2 separate regions of the Homo sapiens genome follow, and region 1 is linked to region 2. The links are contacts of gene promoters, found by promoter capture Hi-C in blood cells and fetal thymus (Javierre and others, 2016). All regions are on one chromosome and are shown on one strand. Each heading gives the region's core, a stretch centred on a gene start or on the middle of the fragment in contact. The rest is flanking DNA. Distances are from core to core; before and after follow the strand shown.

Region 1 (2,700 bases), core at 75-2,574, 530 kb before region 2:
TTTCTTCCTGTCTTTCCATTTCTTTCCTTCCTTGTGGTCTTATCAATCTGTTTATTTAGCTCCACTAAAATGTATGCTCCACAAGGGCTTAAGTTTTTGTTTGTTTTCTTCACTGCCTTTATCACTAGCACCTAAACGGAGCCTGGAACGTGGTAATGTGTAAAGAATATTTGTTTAACAGATGAATCCTTGGTCTCATGGAGCTAACATTCTTTTTTTTAATTTTCCTATTTTTTTACTTTAATTAGGAATTCAACATAGAAGAGCTTACATTCTCTCTCTTTGAATTTAAGATTTGAAGAACACTGCTCAGAAGACAGGATCTTAGAGTCAGGGACCAAGTATTAATTTCGGAAATCAAACTCTAGGGCTCAAATCGGGAACTAAGAATCAAAGATCATATTTGGAGGTTAGAAGTCAGGAGAAGCCACAGTTCTAACAGAAGTCTCAGGACTGGAGTCAGGTTTGGGTATCAGTGGATACAATGTGGATTCCAGGAGCTGAGAATCATAGTTCAAGAAAAGAAGGTAAGAAATGATTGGGTTAGGATCATAGCTAGATAGAAGATTGGTTTTGTTAAAAGTTAGGACTCGGGGGTTAGAGGTCAGGAAGTTCAGCATCGGAAGTCAGATTTAGGAGTATGAGGTTAGGAAGCCTCAGGGATCAGAGATTAATGAGGAATGTGACGCCGGGTCCTAGGGCTCCGTTTGGCAGCCTAAGGTTCACTCACGTGTCCCCATCCTCAGTGACGTAGCCGAAGACGAGGGGAGCCCACGACAGCCCCGGGCCCAACTCCGCGCCCAACCCAGGTCCTCCGGGGGCCGCTGCGTCCGGACCCAGGGAGCCCAGGCCGCTGTCGCACCATTCATCTGCGTCGGCAGCTTTTCCCAAGCACGCGACCCCAGCCATGGCCCCCGCCGCCTCAGGGGCCCCCCGCAGTCGCCCGCCTGTAGCTGGGCTTTGCCGGGAGTTCTGGAGCTTCCGCCCTGCGGGAAATTCCCCACCACGCCCCCTGATTCACCCAATGATAATATGCTGAATCGCTCACACCCCGCCCTCGTACTGCATCCTGACCAATCAGAGTATTCGGGAGGACTACAACTCTCTAGCCGTTCCCACATTTTCCGGGCGCCCTTTACCAACATGGCTGCTGACGCCACGCCTTCTGGGACTCGTAGTCCGGTCCTCGCGCGCTTTCTTACCTAACTGGGGCGCTCTGGGTGTTGTACGAAAGCGCGTCTGCGGCCGCAATGTCTGCTGAGAGTTGTAGTTCTGTGCCCTATCACGGCCACTCCCATTTCTGGTGCCGTCACGGGACAGAGCAGTCGGTGACAGGACAGAGCAGTCGGTGACGGGACACAGTGGTTGGTGACGGGACAGAGCGGTCGGTGACAGCCTCAAGGGCTTCAGCACCGCGCCCATGGCAGAGCCAGACCGTGAGTCGGGGATCCGGGTAGGAGGGTCGGGCCGCGCCGGGGCCTGGCTGAATGCTGCAGGCCCCGGGGCCCAAGGGTGGCCGCGGTGGGGCGGGAAGTAGGGAGCGCTTCGGGGAGTGGGATTCTGAGGGCTGTTGCTTAGCGATCTGTATCGCTAGGCTGGTGGGTTTCTGGGTCGCAGTGTGTTCAGGGTTCGTTTACCACATCCACTTGCCAAGTTGCCAATGATCGCGTGTTTCTCGCACCTTGGTTGCTAAGGTCCCTCGCTGCAAAGAACATAAGTTGCCCCGGTCCCGCTTGCTATGGGTACCTGATTGTTAGAGGCAACCAGAGGATGCTGAGGGACCCCTGCTGACCCCTCCTATGGCTTCCCCTTGTTCCGCGCCTCTCCTAAACCTACCGCCTCCACTGCACCACTGCACCTCCCTCCTAAACCTGCCTCCCAGCCAAAGCGTCTCTTCCCTTCTCTTTTCCTTTCTAAACTTCCCTCTGCCTTGTAAATCTAACCCTCCCCGCACACACACTCACACACTGTCGTGTCCTTCCTAACTCCTCCTGAGTGTTCCTTCATGCCCTGAATCCCCTAGGTAGGAGGAGGAGGATCGCTTGAGCCCAGGAATTTGAGGCTGCAGTGAGCTATGATCGCACTATTGCACTCCAACCTGGGTGACATGAGCGAGACCCTTTCTCTAAAAAGTAAAAAAGAAAGAAAGTAAGTCAGGGCCAGAAACAATGGCTCATGCTTGTAATCCCAGTACTTTGGGAGGCCAAGGTGGTTGGATCGCTTGAGCCCAGGAGTTCAAGACCAGCCTGGGCAAAAGCCCCTACTTTCTCCCTGTCCCCCTAAATCTTCCTCTCCAGCCTCTCTGCCCCTCACTAATCACCTCTCCCGGCATCACTTTGCATGTAGATAAGATCTTTTCTCCGTCCCCTCCCTCCCTCTGCTCCATTTTTACCACCATCCCATCCCAGTGTAACTAGGTTGGTGGGTGTTCTTGCCCCCTCACTGACCATTTGAACCCCTTTATTCCCCCCTTAATCGTTCTCCCCACTGTAACCACCTCTGCTCCCCTCCCCCAGCCTCTCACCCTCTGGAGACCCAGGCAGGGAAGGTGCAGGAGGCTCAGGTGAGATGGGGGAAAGGGTGGAGGGGAGGAGAGAGACGGACTTGTTCCACATCCCACACTGGGGGGAGGTGGCAAAGGGGAAACAGTCACCCCAGGGCCCTCGGCTCATTGCCCCAATCCCTCACACCACCCAGTGC
Region 2 (2,700 bases), core at 113-2,612:
AGGAGGGACACTCAGTGCCTGACCCAGTGGAATCACGCGGCGGTGGGGACAGGAGTACATTCCATTCTTGGCCCATCTTCCCCACAATCTATTGGGGAAGGGGTAGCTGGGCTATCCCCAAAATCTATATCTGGGAGGGGGAGGTCCAAATCTCCCCCCACAGTTCAGCCCATACATCTTTCCTTAGCAGGCTCAGCAGCTTGTTCCAAGCCACTGGATTTACACTCCCTCCCAACAGATGTTTGGTCTGAAGCACTCTGGGCCCCGTATTCTTGTTCTCTACTTGTAAGAATATTTCTTCTAGGTTCAGTCCTGCCTTCACAACTAGGCTGCCCCCTCTCCCAACAGATGCGAGCCTAAGCCCCAGATCTCTCAGATCCTAACCCAGCCTGGTCTTAACCACACACCCTCTACACAGCCCACCTTTTCAGCCTCATTCTTTTATCACTCCGGGCAGTCCTCACTTCCCACTTGGTCTTGCCTGGAATCCACCATCAGGAAAAGCCCGAATCCCAATCCTGCCACTCCGACCAGTTAAGCCTCCACGCACCAAAAATCTAACCCCTCACTCAGTTCTGCCATAAGTCTTCCAATCATTCCCCCACCACCCCCGCGTGGGTCCATTCCAGTCATCTCTCACTTAAAAAAAAAATGTAGAGACAGAGTCTCGCTATGTTGCTCAGGCTGATCTTGAACTCCTGGGCTCAAGCGACGCTCCCCCGCCTCGGCCTCCCAAAGCGCTGCGATTACAGGCGTGACCATCAACGCTCCCTGTCCCTCTCTCGCTTCTTGACGCCCTCCGAGCCCCCACTTTGGCTGTTCCAAATCTTTCACCCCATCGGATCCCCCAGCCCGCCTCAGTCTCGCTGGCACCGAGGTGGCTTCCGCGGCCCGGGACTTGGTTGGGTCCAGACACCTCGTAGCGCCTCCCACGCCCGCAACACTCGGTTTCCTGGGCCTGCCGACTTTACCTTGAGTCGACCCAGCTCTTCCCCGCACTTGCTAAGATTGGGGCTTTTACGGTTCCACTCGCCCTTGAGTTGCTCGTACATGCCGGTCGCGGCCTGCAGAACAGCGCCCGAGGTTGCCGCGGGCCCGGAGCTCGAGAAGCCTGCCGCCCCGTTCACCGCCGCGGCCGCCATCTTGCGTGATGCGGCAAGCAGACCGCCTGATTTACGGCAGCGCCGCCTACAAACGCTTGCCCGGCGGAAGTGGGGCCGAGAGGTGGAGCCCAAGGCCCGGGGCGGGGCTACAACCTGCCTCAGCCCGCCCCGGGTAGCCCGCCGTCGCTCTCGAGGTGGCGCCCTCGGAGCCCTGCCCTTAATGAACATGTCAGTTGGAGCTCCGCCTCTGTCGTCACTCAAGATGGTGACCGGAAGTTGGCTTTTGCCCTAACTGAAAATGACAGCTGTCTCAACACCACCCCCCCTACCCACCTCACGGTTCCAATAATGAACATGGCTGCCCTGGCTTCAGTCTGAGTGCTCGGGACGCTACGTAGCTGTCCTGGAGGTTCCGCCTTCGGGGCAGCGTCTCCAAGCCAAAAGGTAGCGGGTGTCGTGCCATTTGGAGAGCTGTGTTATTCTCATTTTATAGACAGACTGAGAGGCTGGGTAACCTTCCAAAGGACTAACAGCTAGGATGTGTACCTGGGGCTCCCTCTCCAGTCTTTTTCAATGCATCCTTCCACATTTTTTTCCCAAGCTTATATGAACTAACTAGTTACAAAACTCATCCAGCTCTATGGCTTTCAATGTCATGTGTAAGTGGAGGATTCACAATTTTTTTTTTTTGAGACGGAGTTTAGCTCTTGTTGTCCAGGCTGGAGTGCAATGGAGCAATCTTGGCTCACTGCATCCTCCGCCTCCTGGGTACAAGTGATTCTTCTGCCCCAGCTTCCCAAGTAGCTGGGATTACAAGCATGTGCCACCACGCCTGGCTAATTTTCGTATTTTTAGTAGAGACGTAATTTTAGTATTTTTAGTAGATGTTGGTCAGGCTGGTCTCCAACTCCTGAACTCAGGCGATTCCCTGGGCCCTGGCCTCCCGAAATGCTGGGATTACAGGCATGAGCCACCTTGCCTGGCCAGTATTCACAACTTCTTATACCAACTTCTTCCTCCACTGATTGATATTACATCTGCACATTCAACATCGCTTTTTCTCTCTTTTTAAAAAAAATTAAATTTTTTATAGAGACAGAGTCTCATTATACTGCCCAGGCTGGTCTCGAACTCCTGAGCTCAAGCGATATTCCTGCCTTGACCTCGCAAAGTGTTGGGATTAGAGGTGTGAGCCACTGCGCCTGGGCAGCACGTTTTTCTCAAACCCGACTTTCACTCTCCGTCTCCACCATTTAGAATGTCATCTCCATGAAGGCAGGACGATTTCCTTCACTACTGAATTCCCAGTATCTCAGTGCTTGGCAAATATTAGTAGACAGTCAATAAATATTTGTTGGCCAGGCATGGTGGCTCATGCCTGTAATCCCAGCACTTTGGGAAGCCGAGGCAGATAGATCACTTGAGGTCAGGAGTTCGAGACCAACCTGGCCAACATGGCGAAACCCCATCTGTACTGCAAATACCAAAAAAAAAAAACAAAAAAACCAGCTGTGCGTGGTGGCACACACCTGTAATCCCAGATACTCAGGAGCCCGAGGCAGGAGAATCGCTTAAACCCAGGAGGTCAGCTTGTAGT

Evidence for each region. The method cuts DNA at HindIII sites, captures the fragments that hold promoters and counts their contacts. A CHiCAGO score of 5 or more calls a contact.
Region 1: the fragment with the promoter of SIRT2 here is called in contact with the fragment with the promoter of PSMD8 in region 2 in 1 of 17 cell types (neutrophils); the score reaches 10.1 in neutrophils.

What each region holds. Positions count from the first base shown.
Region 1 is chr19:38,898,242-38,900,941 of GRCh38, reverse strand. SIRT2 (sirtuin 2) reads left to right here and starts at 1,324. Exons shown (of 16, transcript NM_012237.4): 1 at 1,324-1,436; 2 at 2,517-2,563. The coding sequence starts at 1,421. It overlaps NFKBIB (NFKB inhibitor beta), which reads right to left and starts at 973. Exons shown (of 6, transcript NM_002503.5): 1 at 731-973. The coding sequence starts at 909. The HindIII fragment of the contact is 23,515 bases long and covers 1-2,700 here.
Region 2 is chr19:38,373,233-38,375,932 of GRCh38, reverse strand. It overlaps PSMD8 (proteasome 26S subunit, non-ATPase 8), which reads right to left and starts at 1,362. Exons shown (of 7, transcript NM_002812.5): 1 at 972-1,362. The coding sequence starts at 1,331. RefSeq lists enhancers at 1,053-1,192, 823-1,453. The HindIII fragment of the contact is 10,393 bases long and covers 1-1,706 here.